Linked DNA regions of Homo sapiens: region 2 is linked to region 1. The links are contacts of gene promoters, found by promoter capture Hi-C in human tissues and cell types (Jung and others, 2019). All regions are on one chromosome and are shown on one strand. Each heading gives the region's core, a stretch centred on a gene start or on the middle of the fragment in contact. The rest is flanking DNA. Distances are from core to core; before and after follow the strand shown.

Region 1 (5,189 bases), core at 830-3,329:
CTCCTGGGCAAAGGGGCTGCCCTGGTCTGGGAAGAGGAGGTGAGAACTCAGAGAGGGCTCAGGGGACCAGACCAGGACAGGTGATGCTGCCCATGGGTCTGATGACCTGCTGCAATTTTTCTAATTGAGGGAGGAAGAAGTCTGGGGAGGGGGTCATCTCTAGCACTCTGTGGAGGGGCAGGGATGGGACAAGACAGGCTGGGGAAGGAAGGAGAAAACGGGTTCTCACCAAAGGGCCCTGGGTCTAGGGCCTCCTGGAAGGCCATGCCATCCTTCTCCAGCAGCTCAATGATCCAACTGAGCTCATCAGAAGAGCTGGAAGCTGACAAGGAAGGAAGGAAGGGTCACACTCCCCTAATCCCTCCCTCAAGGGCTCTCTCTGGCTGTGCAGCTGGCCCAGAGCTCCAGGGCCTGCCTACGGCCACACTGAACTCGACTCAGCTCAACATGTGGAGCTGCTCCCCAGCCTCCAGGGGCCTGGACTCACTGAGGTCTCGCAGCTGGGCATGGAGTTGGTCCCCCAGAGGCCCAAAGACCAGACGCAGCTCCTCAAGGGCACAATTGCAGAGGGTGGCGCCATCCATGTCACATCGTGAGAAGTCAATGGCGCTTGCGTCGTACTTGTTCTTCTCCACTTGGTAGCTGATCCAGTCCAGAACCTGCGTCTTCGACCAGAACTGGGGCTGTTCCCCCAACCAGCTGGCCTTCTCTGCAAGGGCCAGGCAGGGAAACAGGCTCAGCTCAGGCCACCCAGCAGACCTTACAGCCCCATTTTTTTTTTTTTTTTTGAGATGGAGTCTCACTCCTGTCACCTAGGCTGGGGTGCAATGGCACAATCTCGGCTCACAGCAACCTCCACCTCCCAGGTTCAAGCGATACTCCTGCGTCAGCCTCCCCAGTAGCTGGGATTATAGGTGCCCACCACCACGCTGGGATAAATTTTTTTTTGTATTTTTAGTAGAGACGGGGTTTCACCATGTTGGCTAGGCTGGTCTCGAACTCTTGACCTCAGGTGATCCGCTCAGCTCAGCCTCCCAAAGTGCTGGGATTACAGGCGTGAGCCACCACTCCCAGCCCACACAGCCCCATTCCTGGAGCACACTGGGGATTCACACCTCAGCCCTTGGAGCCATCCCAAGAGTAGGGGCAGGAGGTAGCATTCACAACACCCTTGTCCTGGTATCTGACACCTCCCTCTGCCTGTCACAGCCCCACAACCCCCAGCACCTCAGTCACTAAGTCTCAGCCTCTAGCCCTGGAATTTGCCTAGAGACCCTCCTCCCTGCCTATTCCCCCATTTGTCTAACAGGCCCTTAGATGGATCTGTCTCCCACTCCGTGCCCCATCCCACCCCGCTGAGACCCACCTGTACCCTCCAATGACATCTGGGGGTTGCTCAGGGTCAGTACCAAGTCATCGGCCCCAAAGGTGGCAGCAGGGGGAACAGAGGCCAGGGTGGAGTCCTCCGAGCTGTACATCGCACTGAAGTAGTTGCTAAAAATGTTGCTAATCTCACAGGTTGCAGCCATGAGGCTACCTGTGGGTAGGGGGAGAGAGGATGAGGTTGGTGAGGGGACGAGGGTCCTCTCCTTACACTCCCAGCTACTCTGCTTTGCCCAACCCTGGGCAAGAGTAGCCCCCAGGGGCAGGAAGATCAGCAACTCTGCGGACACCGTCTCTTCAAGAAGGGCTCCAAGATCTCAGACCAGGGCAGGACCACAGGAGCCTCCAGCTGGGCTTCCCTCCTCAGATCTCTGGGGCCCTGGAGCCAGACTAGCGGCGTCATGGCCATTCTGCCTTCCCAGAGACAATCTCTCTCTGTTCTTTGACCCTCAGGACACCTACGCTCTTGCTCGGAGATCCTAGACTGGAGTGTGCAGGTTCAGAACTGCAAATCCTCTGGACCCCTCTGCAGTTTCCCAAGAGCTGGGCTAGGGAATGACAGGCGGGGAATCCTACCGGAGTGGCGGAGTCCGGCTGTGGCAGGCAGGCCGGCAGGCGGGAGAGAAATCCAGTTCCGCCAGGTAGCGCTGAGGTATCTGGCCGCTGCGCTCCCCTACCCGGCTCTAAATAGAGCCTGGAGGGAGCTCCTCCCTGAGCTCAGGGCTTTATAGTGTGTCCCCTGCAGTAACCTGAGCTGGTGTCTCATTGGATGGAGGGGATTTCCTGGCCTTTAGACTGGGCTCCTGGCCCCAGGTGATTTGCATATTCAGTGCCACTTGGCCCGGATCTTAGCAGGCAGTGCTGGGAAATCAGGCCCGGCTGGTTTAATGATTGTCAGAGTCTGTCATCCCGCACCCTCTGGGGTTGGGCACGGGGCACTGGCCTGGGCAGGTGGCGGGAACGTTGCTGGGGTGGGCATCTGTGCTTTCGGCTGCCCTCTGGCCCAGGAAATTCCTCCCAGGGGCCAGGCCAGAGATGGGCCAGGCAGGGGGAGGGCAAGTGAGGGAACATGAACCCCTGGCTGACCTGAGTCAGAAAGCTGCTGGCCCCTAAATTCCAGAGATTCAGCAACAAAGAGGCCTAGTAGGGAGAGGAGTTACTAGGTTTAGGGGTTTTTCCCAGAACACCCAGGACTCTGGCCAGGGGCTGGAAGGTGCTCCAGGCTCAATGCTGGGCAATACTCATGGATTAATTGGTGCTGGCTGGGCCTGCCAGCCTAGTCGTGGCCCCAGGGTCCCCACTAAAGGGCTCCTTCTCCAGCGCCCACTCTGTTGGCAAGGTCTTCACTACCATCACCTGCCTGGACTCCATCCAAGCATCAGGGTTGCTGCAGTCGCTCCTGAAGAGACCCGGCTCTGCTTGAAAGTTCTTCCCTCAGCGCCTGCTGGAGCCCTCCCTGCCGGAGTTGCCAGAATCCACACGGGTAAGTTCATCCCTGCTCTCTGGACCCCATCTAATCTCTGGTTCACTCGGCCCAGTTTTCCAGTACCTTCTGCTGCCCTCTAGTGGTCAGAAGCCTGACTACCTGGGTCACGTCATTCAAAGAAGAGGGAATGCATAGTATTAATATATTTACCAAGCACTTTTCAACATATTCTCTCATTTAATCCTCACACCAAAAAAGTCCTGTAAGGAATGCATGGTTATTCCCATTTTATAGACATGAAAGTTGCAGTGTGGAGGGTTCCCTTAGAATGGCTTGCCCAGGCCACACAGAGTTGGTGAAGGGGTGGAGCTGAGATTCACATCCAGGTATGCAGGTGTGTTGTACACAAAACCCTCGCTCTTTCCCTGCACAGGATTCAATGTCTTCGGGCTTCAGAGTCTTCCCATCCAGCTCCATGGCCAGAGCCCTTGCCTTCCCTGTGGGCAGAGTCCCCCATGTCTGTGGTTGTCTCTATGGACTCAGCCCGAAACACAATGGATAGTGTCTTATAGACCCTTCTTGAGACCCTGAATGGGGTAATACAGGTGGTTGAGGCAGGAGACTTGTAGCCAGCATCTGCAACTGTGTGATCTTGGATGAGACCCTTGGAGTCTGTGCTTGTTTCCCCATCTATAAAAAATGAGGTTGTCTGAATTTAATAATCCCTAAGATCTCTTCCAGATCTAGTATTTTGTTTATTTTGTTTTGAGGTGGAGTCTCGCTCTGTCGCCCAGGTTGGAGTGCAGTGGCGTGATCTCTGCTCACTGCAACCTCTGACTCCTGGGTTCAAGCGATTCTCCTGCCTCAGCTTTCCGAGTAGCTGGGATTACAGGCGCCCGCTGCCATGCCCGGCTTTCTGTATTTTTAGTAGAGACGGGGTTTCACCATGTTAGCCAGGATGGACTCGATCTCCTGACCTCATGATCTGCCTGCCTCAGCCTCCCAAAGTGCTGGGATTACAGGCATGAGCTACTGCGCCCAGCCCATATCTAGATTTTTATGCATTTGAAATGTAGGATCCGGTGGCTCACACCTGTAATCACTGCGTCTCAAAAAAAAAAAAACAAAAACAAAAAAATGTAGGATCTGTGTGACCCCCCTCCATTAATGCACAACTTGGGGAGTTCCTGGCCACCCTCAGCCAGGGTGGGTGAAACGGTTACTCAAACAAAAGGTGACTCCACCTTCTACAGATACTTCTTTCTTTAACTCTATAGCCTGAGGACTAAGAAAGTCCTGCGCAGAGAATCTGCTTCTTACCTTACCTTCTTCCTCTCTGAAGCTCCCAGGTGCCTAGGAGAGAGTTAATGTCCAGGATCCCCCCGCCCCCCCGCCCCCGCACTGGGCCAGTGCAGGCAGGAGAGCCTGGGGCTCAGTAGGATTTTCCCCAGCCCTTCAGGGGGCCTCCCCCAAGGAGCCTGAGGCAGGCACACCCTCCACCCAGTCCCTCACCCAGGAATGTGGGAGAACCGGCTTCTAGCCCCAGGGCTGCTCACGTGCTCCCTGCCCTGAAGAGCATCTGGCTGGGGCTCCCGGGATGGCGGGGTGAACAGGAGGATGTACGAGAAAAATGAGAAGGCTGTCAGCTCCCTTGCCTTCTTGGGGCTTCCTCACCGCTGACATGGAGCTGAGATAAGGAATCCCTACAGGCTGGCAGCTTGAGATAAGTGAGAAAGACTTGGATTTGAGGTCAGTGCCTTGGAGGCATGGGGATGGGGGTGGGGAGAAGGTTCCAGGATAGTGGTGAAGAGAGCTATGGAGCAGGATGCCAGGGGCTTCCCAGTATTCTGTGATGGCAAAAACAACCCACTGGCCTCCCCTCTCCCCACAGAGCTTGCCCACACGGCAGCACAGCCTCATCTTTGGGATGGGAGAATGTCCTACAAAAGGACAGGCACATCCAGTAGTCCTGTCAGGTACCAAGGTGGTGAGTGAGGCAGGCTGCACAGCTCAGGATACCCACGCTATGTAATGGGAGACCCCACAAAGTTAGTGGAGTCACAGCACGGCTGTTAGAGGAAGGGCTTCCAGCCTTTCCTTGCACTGACCCTTCATGATTACTGGGCCTATTGGTGCTATAGGTTTTTGTACAGAGCAAGGAAAGATAGCTACTGATAAGCTAGATAAAAGGTTGGGGAGAGGGGGAGACAACTGGATAGCCCTAAAATAGTCCTTGCCAATAACATATTGCCAGGAACAGTCCTGAAAGAGCCACGGAAGCAGTTTGCTGTCAAAATGCCAGTGCCTGGAGAAGCTCTTCCGATACCGGGCCTCCAGATCCCTCACCTATGACCCACATCACCCTCTCTGATGGTGGAGC
Region 2 (5,189 bases), core at 1,909-4,408, 190 kb after region 1:
TTTCGCTTTTTCTACATTAGATATAAAAGGGGGTAGGTTGAAAGAGGGGAGGGTCAAATAAAAAACATAAACACACAGACATACACATATCCTGGTTTGGGATTTTGCACCCAATAACTTAAAAAAAAAGTGTTGCAAAAACTTCTGCCCACTCTCCACCTGAGGAACACCATGCATTTGAGAAACACGGACTCTGTCACATAAACGGTGCTGCCTAAAACAGTATGGAGGCGGGGAAGGAAGCTAGCAGGGGTTGGAATTCATTTTGAAAAAAGATTGTTTTGTTAGAAAAAGCAAAAACAAAAAAGCATTAGAAAGTGGGAGCCACTGCACAGCAGTAGCCTAGAGACTGGCTGCGATATGGTAGCTCTGCCTTGATATCATCTTCGTGTCTTCAGGCATAGAGAAATGGCAGAGGAGCAGTAAGACCCCACAGGAGATGGCCAGAGGATCCACCATCAGCCTTCTGGGGACTGAGGAGGTGATCTTAGTGGAATTATTTTATACTCACCTCCCCCGGGGTTTAGTCCTTCCTCCAAACACTTAGTTCCAGGGCGCAGGAGACCTGTTACTAGCACTGTATGTTTCTTTGTGCTTTACCCAAGTTCTCATACAGGGAAAATTGACAAACTTGAAACAAAACCAGTTCTAAACAGCCTCATCTCCTCCATGGCCCAATCAGCTATTTTATGAGTTTGTAAAGATATGAAGCTTTTTTCAGATATTTTTTAAAAAGGATCTTATTTGGCAGGGTGCTGTGGCTCACGCCTGTAATCCCAGCACTTTGGGAGGCTGTGGCAGGTGAATCACCTGAGGTCAGGAGCTCCAGCACAGCCTGGCCAACAAGGCAAAACTCCGTATCTACTAAAAATACAAAAATTAGCTGGGCGTGATGGCGCACGTCTGTAATCCCAGCTACTCAGGAGGCTGAGACAGGAGAATCGCTTGAACCTGGGAGGCGGAGGTTGCAGTGAGCCGAGATCGTGCCACTGCACACCAGCCTGGGTGACAAAGCGAGACTCCTTCTCCAAAACAAACAAACAAACAGAAAACAACAAAAAAAGGATTTTATTCTGTCACCTTGGCTGAGTACTTCTGTATCCAGGTCCTGCTGTGGGGAAAAGAGAGGAGGAGCACAAGGACTGAAGTGCCCAGGTCTGTGTCTTCATTATGCAAGACTCTCCTATGAGCTGAGTGGAGTGTGGATAAGGGGCCTTCCTGGGATACTGGAGCCCTACACTGTTAGCTGCCATACAGAAGGAGGTTCTGGCCTGGTTCTCAGGCCCAGCAGTGCCCTTTATAACTCAAATAAAGGAGAGGGATGTTGCTGGGAGAACACGTTGTCATGGAAATACAAATTAGATTTTTTTTTTTTTTTTTACTTTTTCCATCCTATTACATAATCAGCTCGGAATAGATACAAATAATTCGGCAGAAGAGCAATCTGGAAGAGACCTCCAACTGCTTTTCCTTGTTGAAGCCCCTTTGTGTGCCAGGTAGTAATTTCCAAGGCATAAGGTTTTTCTCTGAAGGTTGTATTCAACTAGGAAAGACACAAACATTCTCCTAACTTCCACCCAAAAGCACACATACCTTTCTTTGTTAAAATCATAAATGGAAAAACAGAAACACAAGGAAGCATGAGAAAGGTGACTTTGAAATTAATGTTAAAGTCTGAATGACAACCTAGAACCTTCTTATTTTGGGCCCCAAAGCCTCTCAGTGTGGGAACTCCAATACTATAAAGGGCTTTCCCTTTAAAACAGTTGAATTTAGTGTGCATCAGAATCACCAGGAGGGCTTATTAAAACGTGGATTGCCGGGTCCTCTCATTAGAGTTTCTGATTCAGCAGATCTGGGATGGGATTGAGAATTTTCGTTTCTAACAAGTTCCCAAAGGCTGCTGATGCTGCTGGTCTTGTGCCATACTTTGCGAACCACTGCTTTAAGGAATGAGAAACCAGGGGATCACTCACTTACTTCCATGACCACCCTTGTCACAGAAAATTCTCCATGGTATAATCATGAAGAAGAATGACCAAACCATCAAACTGGAAGGATCTAGTATACACAGGTTGAATTTTCAACCGTCTTCGTGTCCCTGCAGCTTTGGCATTTTGATAGGTATCCTCCCTTCAAGGCTACATCTTCTGGGTTACTACCACCTTTCCCAGGATCTGTGGCCGGCAGTGCTCACTTCCAGGGCTAGGCTGAGCAGACATGCACCCATGCACCCTGGTGGCCCCATATATCCGTAGTCAGGTTGATTCAGGACTTATTAAAATATAAGGCTGATTGGATTATAAGGGGCAATATCTTCAGGCTTTGGCCTTTGGGGAACAGTGTTCATAAGATCATTTTATTACTATGGCCTTCTCAGTGGAGCCATGAGCCAGAACTTGTGAGTAGTATATCCATCTCTATTAATAAACCCTCTGCAAAAGCCCATTTTTCCATCCCATCACAGGGGTTGGCTTATGAAGTCGGCTTCTTAACTTTAGCTTAGTCAGTGCCAAGGAATAAGGAAAGCAAAAATAAAGTATGATGAGGAACTGCGCTTGGTGATCTGGGTCACTTCAGCACTTATTCCCTGTGTTAAATGTGTGATTAGGACAATTCCCCCGCCCTCTCCAAATAATGGCAATAAAGAGTTCTTAAGGTCTCATGCAGATATCTTCTTGACCTTGATTTGGAGGACTGAGTCCCCTTCAGTCAGGCAAATTTTACCTAAATGCAGGGTTTCTATGTGGATGCCATCCCAAGTGAGGATGTGAGGTGTCTGTGAGAAGCAGCAGGCTACCATTTCTCTCTTCCTACTCTTTTAGAATACTTTAGGAAATAGTTACTCCTCAGACCACTGTAAGGGGTTATCCCTCTGAGTAGTGTGACCCTTGTTTCAGAGAGCTAGAAGTGAAGAGATGGTGAGATTAGGTACACTTAGTCTTGCAAACCAGGAAAACCAGAAGGCAAGACATTAAGAGAGAAAAAGAAGCCCTCTATTTTGTCTTTAGTACTTAAGGAATATGGATAGATCAGTTGGAAAGTTGGCAATTCAAGACTAAAACAGTATACCAACCAATGAACATTTCATTGTAGGGTCTTCCCATGGACTTGTAGCAGATTTGTCTTCCCTGCCAGCCTCTACCTTCCCAATGGTTAGACATGAAAAAGACATGGGTACTTAAGGATTGACACAAAGACAGAGATAAGCACCGTAGAGCTGCCACAAAGCATAGATTTTAAAAAATACTTTGAAGCCTCAGAAGGTAGGAAACAGCAACAGCAAACTGCTCTTGTGTGTGTGAGAGAGGGAGACACACACACACACACACACACACACACACGCAGACATCAGGTCCCACATTAGCCTCCAATGACCTAGTATTTTATTTTTAGTGCCTAGGCAAGGTCTGAGAAACAAATACATTGGACAAAACTTGTTGGTCTTCTTCATCCAGAAATTAAGGGACTCAGCTCAGGAACCTCTCCTGGAGTTGTGGCTCTCCCCATTGGTTGACATTAGATATTGAATTCATGTCATTTCCTAGACAACTGTGGTGAGGGATGGAGTTGGGGGGCTGGAGAGGAAGATAATAGCACAAATTCCAGTATTAGGCTGGATTCTTCTGAAGGTGCCTGGCGGTTGAGAATTTAGCTATGGGACCCAGTGTTTCTTTTCTGAAGGATCCCAGTAGTCTCAACCAAGAAGCAGGACGTAGGTGGGAGAGAATGCTGTAGATTTGCTCCTTGCCATAAATTCTAGGGCAGTGAGTGGGGAGCTCAGGTTTTCTGCTTCAGAGAAGTCTGGATGAGTGTCCCAAGGGGTTATAGCACCATGAGGAGGCTCAGCCTTCTGCAGTTGCCATATAACTGTGATTCCTTCATGAGAATGATCAATCCCCACAGTGAGGGGCCCAGATGTGCAACTGTAAACAGGGTCCCAGGCTCCAGAGGGAAAGCCGAGGCTTCAATACTACCTCACTAGACGGGAACACACTTTCTGGAGGAAAGCAATTGGAGACCTGGCCTAAATGCAGCAGTCAGCTGAGAGTAGAGGGTGGTGGATCCCAGGAAGAGAAATAAAAAGTCATAGCATGAGGCCTCCAGAATCAACCTGCTGAGGATCCAAATAAAATTCATGGTGGTATCCATGGTTACCAGAGAGCCAAGAATCCCTTTGGGGTCGGAGGCAGTTGGAATGAAAGAAGGGGTTCTCCCCTCTCCTTTTTCTCAAGTAGCCAGTAACATCCATGGCAGAAGGCACTGGCTGGGCAGCACCAGAAAATAGAGTGAAGCGCTCAACCATCAGATTAAGATGGCATTAAAAGTCTGAGCCTTGCCATGGAACTGGAGCTTAGGATAGGGTTTAGAAGAGGCCTAGATCCCAAGCAGGCCCATCCAGTCTTCTCTTCCTTCTAAGTTAGAACAGCCAGCTCGGGGGCCTCCTCATTCTGCACAGCAGAGACCTTAAGGCAGTGATTTCAGCACCATCCTTGGACACACAGCCTCTTCCCACCACAGAATTGCATATGTTACAGCTGAGTTGGTTAGGGATCTTCACAGCTCATGGAATTAGCAGCAATAGCAATAATAGTCTCCATCATACAGAACCCTGTCATCCATGGGAGCTTACCACGTGGATGCAGAAGCTTTTGTGAGGGGCAGCCCGGACCATCTTTTGGACTTAATATACCGATATGAAGATTCAGATGCATCTACTCCTCGGTTGGGTGGAAGAGTGATCCAGGTTGGTATGCCTATAGATTCTGATAAAGTCTTGTGCTACTTAGGAATCTGAAGAGCAAACACTTAGGCCGGTGCTCATCACATATCCTTGACCTGCAGAGTCCTGAAGCTTCAGCCTACTAGGCAGCTCAGCCTAGAAGCTGGTCCCGCGGGGCTTTCAGAAATGGCAGGAAGTAGACTTGCCCATTCCTGACAAGCAAGATTCCATAGTCCTTCAGGCTCCATCTTAATTGATCCCAGATCTTCTGCCCCCAATGTATTGTACATCTAATCAAAAGCTTCTTTCTAGCTGGCTCCTTGGGTTTCAGCTACATTTCTTAGATGATCCCGAAGGTCTAGATAACAAGGGGGCGTAGCTGAATGGAGGTTAACATTTCCTGCTGGACTGTAAACTTAAGGGCCCAGGTCTTGTGTGTGTGTGTGTGTGTGTGTGTGTGTGTGTG

The links. The method cuts DNA at HindIII sites, captures the fragments that hold promoters and counts their contacts. A contact is called where the count stands out against the background at its distance.
Region 2: a fragment that was not itself captured here is called in contact with the fragment with the promoter of ELF3 in region 1 in 2 of the 25 tissues and cell types used here (IMR-90 fibroblasts and adrenal gland).

The regions. Positions count from the first base shown.
Region 1 is chr1:202,007,477-202,012,665 of GRCh38, reverse strand. ELF3 (E74 like ETS transcription factor 3) reads right to left here and starts at 2,079. Exons shown (of 9, transcript NM_004433.5): 1 at 1,960-2,079; 2 at 1,367-1,537; 3 at 488-709; 4 at 230-322; 5 at 1-26. The coding sequence starts at 1,529. ELF3-AS1 (ELF3 antisense RNA 1) reads left to right here and starts at 2,313. Exons shown (of 2, transcript NR_146472.1): 1 at 2,313-2,866. RefSeq lists enhancers at 245-1,179, 1,180-2,113, 3,840-4,481. The HindIII fragment of the contact is 15,952 bases long and covers 1-5,189 here.
Region 2 is chr1:201,821,519-201,826,707 of GRCh38, reverse strand. NAV1 (neuron navigator 1) reads right to left here. Exons shown (of 34, transcript NM_001389617.1): 34 at 1-5,189. All of the region lies in intron 1 of IPO9-AS1 (IPO9 antisense RNA 1), which reads left to right. Among named protein-coding and RNA genes, the nearest start is that of IPO9, 5.0 kb to the left of the region's middle. The HindIII fragment of the contact is 6,508 bases long and covers 1-5,189 here.